Linked DNA regions of Homo sapiens: region 1 is linked to region 2. Evidence: promoter capture Hi-C in 16 types of primary human blood cells and fetal thymus (Javierre and others, 2016). All regions are on one chromosome and are shown on one strand. The core of a region is centred on a gene start or on the middle of the fragment in contact, and the rest is flanking DNA. Distances in the headings are between cores, read along the strand shown. Region 1 overlaps SMG1 (SMG1 nonsense mediated mRNA decay associated PI3K related kinase). Region 2 holds the start of SMG1 (SMG1 nonsense mediated mRNA decay associated PI3K related kinase).

What was found. Contacts are between HindIII fragments. The CHiCAGO score rates a contact against its expected background, and 5 or more counts as called.
Region 1: a fragment that was not itself captured here is called in contact with the fragment with the promoter of SMG1 in region 2 in 2 of 17 cell types (activated CD4 T cells and non-activated CD4 T cells); the score reaches 5.5 in activated CD4 T cells.

The regions. Positions count from the first base shown.
Region 1 is chr16:18,830,504-18,833,339 of GRCh38, forward strand. It overlaps SMG1 (SMG1 nonsense mediated mRNA decay associated PI3K related kinase), which reads right to left. Exons shown (of 63, transcript NM_015092.5): 51 at 2,437-2,663. Among named protein-coding and RNA genes, the nearest start is that of ARL6IP1, 30 kb to the left of the region's middle. The HindIII fragment of the contact is 917 bases long and covers 835-1,751 here.
Region 2 is chr16:18,925,016-18,927,821 of GRCh38, forward strand. SMG1 (SMG1 nonsense mediated mRNA decay associated PI3K related kinase) reads right to left here and starts at 1,393. Exons shown (of 63, transcript NM_015092.5): 1 at 935-1,393. The coding sequence starts at 1,026. It overlaps SMG1-DT (SMG1 divergent transcript), which reads left to right and starts at 1,172. Exons shown (of 2, transcript XR_001752094.2): 1 at 1,172-1,259. RefSeq lists silencers at 615-1,204, 1,235-1,574 and enhancers at 1,260-1,872, 1,873-2,486. The HindIII fragment of the contact is 12,853 bases long and covers 1-2,806 here.

The sequences.
Region 1 (2,836 bases), core at 43-2,542, 95 kb before region 2:
TTAGGCCGGGCGCGGTGGCTCACGCCTGTAATCCAGCACTTTGGCAGGCCGAGGTGGGCAGATCACCTGAGGTCAGGAGTTCAAGACCAGCCTGACCAACATGGAGAAACCCCGTCTCTACTAAAAATACAAAAAAATCAGCCGAGTGTGATGGTGGGCACCTGTAGTCCCAGCTACTCAGGAGGCTGAGGCTAGGAGAATCGCTTGAACCTAGGAGGCGGAGGTTGCCTAGGAGGCCAAGATCGCGCCATTACACTCCAGTCTGGGCAACAAGAGCGAAACTCCATCTCAAAAAAAAAGAAGGAATGTTATGATGATAAAATGGTATTTCATGTCAACCACAATAGGATTTCAATGATTCCAATTCGTTATTAATGACTGTTATGTGATTAAATTTTATGCAAACTTCAGTGATCAGTCTCATTTTTACACACAAAATATGAAATAATTTAAAATCCTGTATTGAAAAATGTCAGAAATCACACCATTCTAAAGCTGGCGGACCTAGTAAATTGTCAGGTATGTTCGCACTATTACTACAAGATACGATACAACCAAGTATACTTGCTATTTTGGGTATGCTTGGTTTTTATTTATGCACATTTTGAATGTAAGGTCTTCAGAAATTCACCCCTCACATTACCATTAAGACTTACATAGTGCTTATGTATCCAGGCACTATTTCTTATCACACACACACACAGAAACCATTCCAAATGGCTGGAACTATTAAGAATTTTTAAGAGAATTAAAAATGTTAAACTACCAGATAAATTTCTAATGGAAAAAGAGCTGTAAGATGGTATGAGATTTTCCTTGAGATTACCCAAAAAAAGCTTCTCTGAAACAAGGCACAGACAGGCTGCCATAGATCCAGGCACAAAGTTTGTTACCCAAAGTACACATTTAGGTAAACATTCCTCTGTATGAGGATAAGGGGAACCCAGATAAGATATTAAGAGAGATAAAATGAAGTCTGAAATTCAGTGCAAAACAAAGATGTACAGATCTAGCATTTAACTTTTTAAATACTGCTAAAAATTATATGATAAAGCTGTTCTATAAATAATCTAATATTTATGCTATTAATGATTATACTTTTTCTAGCCGGGCATGGGGGCATACGTCCATAGTCCCAGCTACTAGGGAGGCTGAGCCAGGAGAATCTCTTGAACCCGGGAGATGGAGGCTGCAGCGAGCCGAGATCGCACCATTGCACTCCAGCCTAGCGACACAGCAAGACTCCATCTCAAAAAAAAAAAAAAAAATACATATATATATATATATACACACACACGTACATATTTATGAATATATATGAATATATTTATTATTTTATGAATATAACCACTCCAAAGAAACATGAGAAACAGGAAATTTCTGAATGCAGGATAATTAACATTAAGGAATTATTGCTACTTTTTTCATGAAATAATGGCACCACAGTCAAGAAAAATAAGATTACATATATATGTATACTTTCTGCATTATTAATATTTAAGAATGAAAAAATATTTGCTTCTAAATAACTAGGGTAGTAAATTTAAACCAGACTAGCCCAGTGCAGATAATTACCAAAGGTGGTGGCAGGGGGTTCATTAGACTATTCTCTCTACAGTCTTGTATCTTTGAAATTTCCCATGGGAGGAAACGGTGCTACAATTCATTTCTACTCTCTCAATTATACTTCTTCTGTGAATTAGACATTGGAACGCCAAAGAAAAGAGGCCCTGAGTCACTAGGCACAAAGAAGCTTAGGGATTAGCTCTGAGTACAATGCATGTCTGCAGGAACTGCCCAAACTCTACAGATTCCAAAGTCAGATTGCTTTTCTGGACTAATGAGATGAAAAATACAATATCCAATTAGCTAAAACAAACTTACAATATTTAAACTAATTTAAAAGTATTCACCTGAAATGAGGTGTGTACTCTGTTAGCTAAATAAACTGTTTCAGGTGTCTCCAAGGGGTTCTACAAGATGGCTTAAAAATATCATGTTCGACTGTGTGTATGTACATGTACATAACTACAAGCACTAAAAGGATATATGTATGTATGTGACCGAACTATACACTTGCACACACACACACACACACACACACACACACAAATAAGTGCATGTATAACTAGTGAAATCTGAGTAAGCGGTGTGGACTATATCATTGTCGGTTTCATAGTGTTACTATAGATACTAACACTGAAGGAAGGATGAAGCATGCACAATACCTGCCTGCACTTTTTTTTTAAGCAACTTCTCGTGATGTATAATTATTTCAAAATAAAAAAGTTTTAAAAAGATACGTGTATGAGCATTTATAAGTAATTATACCTGCTCTAAAAACTAAAAGTAAACTTACGTTAAAGAGCTCAGAATCCCTTTCTCTGGCTGTCCCATCTCTTTTACAAGGAAACGGCACAGCCAGCATTCACTTGCCTGGCAACATCGATGTAATGAGCATGTGTTTCTTCTTCCAGTCCCATAGCTGCGTTTCTTAAGTAGGCCTGAAGAGATTCCACTAGAGTCTGCAGGGGAACGCCATCGGTGGTCTGCTCAATAAGACCGTCCAGTTCATGCAGCATACTTTCTAACGTGTATTCCCCTTTCATTAAACATCGAAGTGCTTCTGGAAATATGATTTGCCGGAAATTCGAATTCAATTCCTATAAATATATGAGAAAAAAACTTTTAATGTTTTTTGAGTTTAGCTAAGTTACACATTTGGAGACTTAGAGCCATACATTAAGAGCAAACTTATGTAACTATGCCATCAACTCATTCATGTAAGTACATCTTTTGTTTACTTTTTATTTCTACTTTTAAATATTTTCTTTTC
Region 2 (2,806 bases), core at 143-2,642:
CCTAAAATATATTTCTGTATATTTAAGGAGTTCTAAGCATTGGGTTAAATTCCAAACAGACTCTGAATACAAGCATTTATTAAGAGAGATTAGAATAAATCAGTCCTAAATTAGGCACAGCTGCCCTCCCATTGATCAAAAAGACAGGAAACTACATTTATTTAAAAAGTTAATGTTCCTAATATATTCAAATCTCACTAAGCCCCAAAACGGTCTGAGATCAAATCCTCCATAAATGAGGAAATTCTCTAGACTTCTAAGTGGGTGCCCAAAGAGTTCACTCAAGTGTCCAGGTATGAATTACGATTCACCAGAGTAACCGGCCTTGCACTTAGGGAAAACTTCCATCGCCCAAGACCAGCGTGGGTCGATCCCATCAACAGTCACACAATCTCATCTCATGCTCCACTAATGAATGTTCTGCCTAGAGTCAGAGCAATGCCTTAGCTGGAGTTTTGTTTTGTTTTTTTCAATATTAACACGTGGGGGTCACAGAAAGGAACAGAGGTTAGAAGAGCTCTCACGTGGCGGCTGAAAGAGTGGGGAACCGAGAAAGTGAATGAGTAACAGGGAGGGTCCTGGACTCTCAGCATCTCCCAACTCGGGGTCAGGGGGAGGCTGTAACTGGAATGCCCCCCACCCCCACCCCCGCCTCTTTCTCACCTCCTGGTCCCGACCCCAGGCCAGTGCCACCGCCGGGAGCCCCGGGTCTCGGCTCCAGCCCCGGGCTGAACAAGCAGGGAGGGGAGGCACTTAGGCCTCGCCTCCCCGCGGCCTTCCTCCCCCAGCCGGGGCGGAGGAGACCCAGGAAGCCGCGCCCGGCTCCGAGGGGTGGAGGGCCTAGGCCGCGCCTCCCAGCCCCGCGGCCCTAGGCCTCGGCCCGCCCGAGGCGGAGCCCGGGAGGTCGGGGCGGGGTCCCGGGCCGGTCACCCACCTGGGTTGCCAGTCATTCCAGCTCCGCGGATACTTGGTGCCGCCGCCGCCGCCGCCGCTGCTCAGCCGAGACCCCGGGGCTCTGCGGCTCATTACCTTCCCCGACACGACATGGCCAAGCGCCGCCGCCCAAAGAAGCGCGAGTCGCCGCCCGAACCGGCCGCCGCCGACACCCCGCTCCGGCCCGGGGCTGAGGAGGAAGCCGAGAAGGAGGAGGAGGAGGAGGAGGAGGAGAAGGAGGAGGCGGCGGAGGGCGGGGGAAGAGGACGGCCGTTCCGGGTTCCGCCTGAGCCCGCAGCGCAGGACGAGGAGGCGGGAGCGGCGCGGTGAGAGAGAGGCGGATGAAGGGGAGGCGACGTCTTTTCCAGGGCCGTGCGCGGCCCACGTCGCCGGGGCCCCGGAGGACGAGGACGACGAGGAGCAGGCGGTGGCGGCAGCTCCTCACGCTCACACGGCCACTGCTTCCCCGCCTCCCGGCTCCGCCCGCCGCGCCGCCGCTGTCGCACGGCATGCTGGGAGCGAGGGGCGGGGTTGGCGCCCGCCGGGCCTGGGGAGAGAGGCGGGTCCTGTCGGCGGGGCGGAGCCGAGAGAGGCGGGGTCGATAGCAGGCCGCCCCGCCCCCCACGTCCCCAGGCCCTTGGGCGGCGAAGAGGTCTGGGCGTAGCGGTGACGAATCCTAAGACAGGGGATCTCCACTACTGCGGCCACACACTTTTCTCCCAAACGCTTCCCGGAAAGCACCGGAGGGCCGGGCAGTCAGGTGTAAACAGGCGTCCAATCAAGGACCTGCGGTGTGGGTGGGGGCTGGTGCCCTGCGGTGCGCGCGCACACAGGCGTGCCCTTGGATTCACGTGCGCCAGTTTTCCCACTTTCTACGGGGTGGGGTGGAAAGTGAAAATAGTAAGATCGAGAGGTGGATATCCACCTTCCCAACCTCCACCTGAAATGTGCCCATCGAGTCCTGGCACCTTTTACCATTTCTTCACAATGAAAAAAACTAAACGATGGAAGGGAAGGGAGTACCCACGATCACCAAACCCTGTCCTCTGCAATGTGAAATGTGCTTTGAAGTCCTTTCACCCTGAGGCTTGCCCGCCTTCTGCTGGTGAAAGAAGCTGGGGGCTAGGCGCGGTGGATCACGCCTGTAATCCCAGCACTTTCGGAGGCCGAGGTGGGCGGATCGTCTGAGGTGAGGAGTTCCCGACCAGCCTAGCCAACATGGAGAAACCCCGCCTCTACTAAAAATACAAAAATTAGCCGGGCATGGTGGAGGGCGCCTGTAATCCCAGCTACTTGGGAGGCTGAGGCAGGGGAATCGCTTGAACCCAGCAGGCCGAGGTTGCAGTGAGCCGAGATCAGACCATTGCAGTCCAGCCTGGACAACAAGAGTGAAACTCTGTCTCAAAAAAATAAAAGAGAGAGAGAAAGGAGGGAGGGAAGAAAAAGGAAGGAAGGAAGGGAGGAAGGAAGGAAAGGAAAGGAAAGGAAAGGAAAAAAGAAAAGAAAGAGAGAAGGCCGGGCGTGGTGGATCACGTCTGTAATCCCAGCACTTTGGGAGGCCGAGGCGGGCGGATCACGAGGTCAGGAGATCGAGACCATCCTGGCTAACACGGTGAAACCCCGTCTCTACTAAAAATACAAAAAATTAGCCGGGCGTGGTGGCGGGTGCCTGTAGTCCCAGCTACTCCTGAGGCTGAGGCAGGAGAATGGCGTGAACCCGGGAAGCGGAGCTCACAGTGAGCAGAGATGGCTCCACTGCACTCCAGCGTGGGCGACAGAGCAAGACTCTGTCTCAAAAAGAAAAAAAAAACAAAGCAGCAGCTGGGTAGAGGAGACGTACCCGACCGTCTACCCCATGACGTGTCCCATGCCC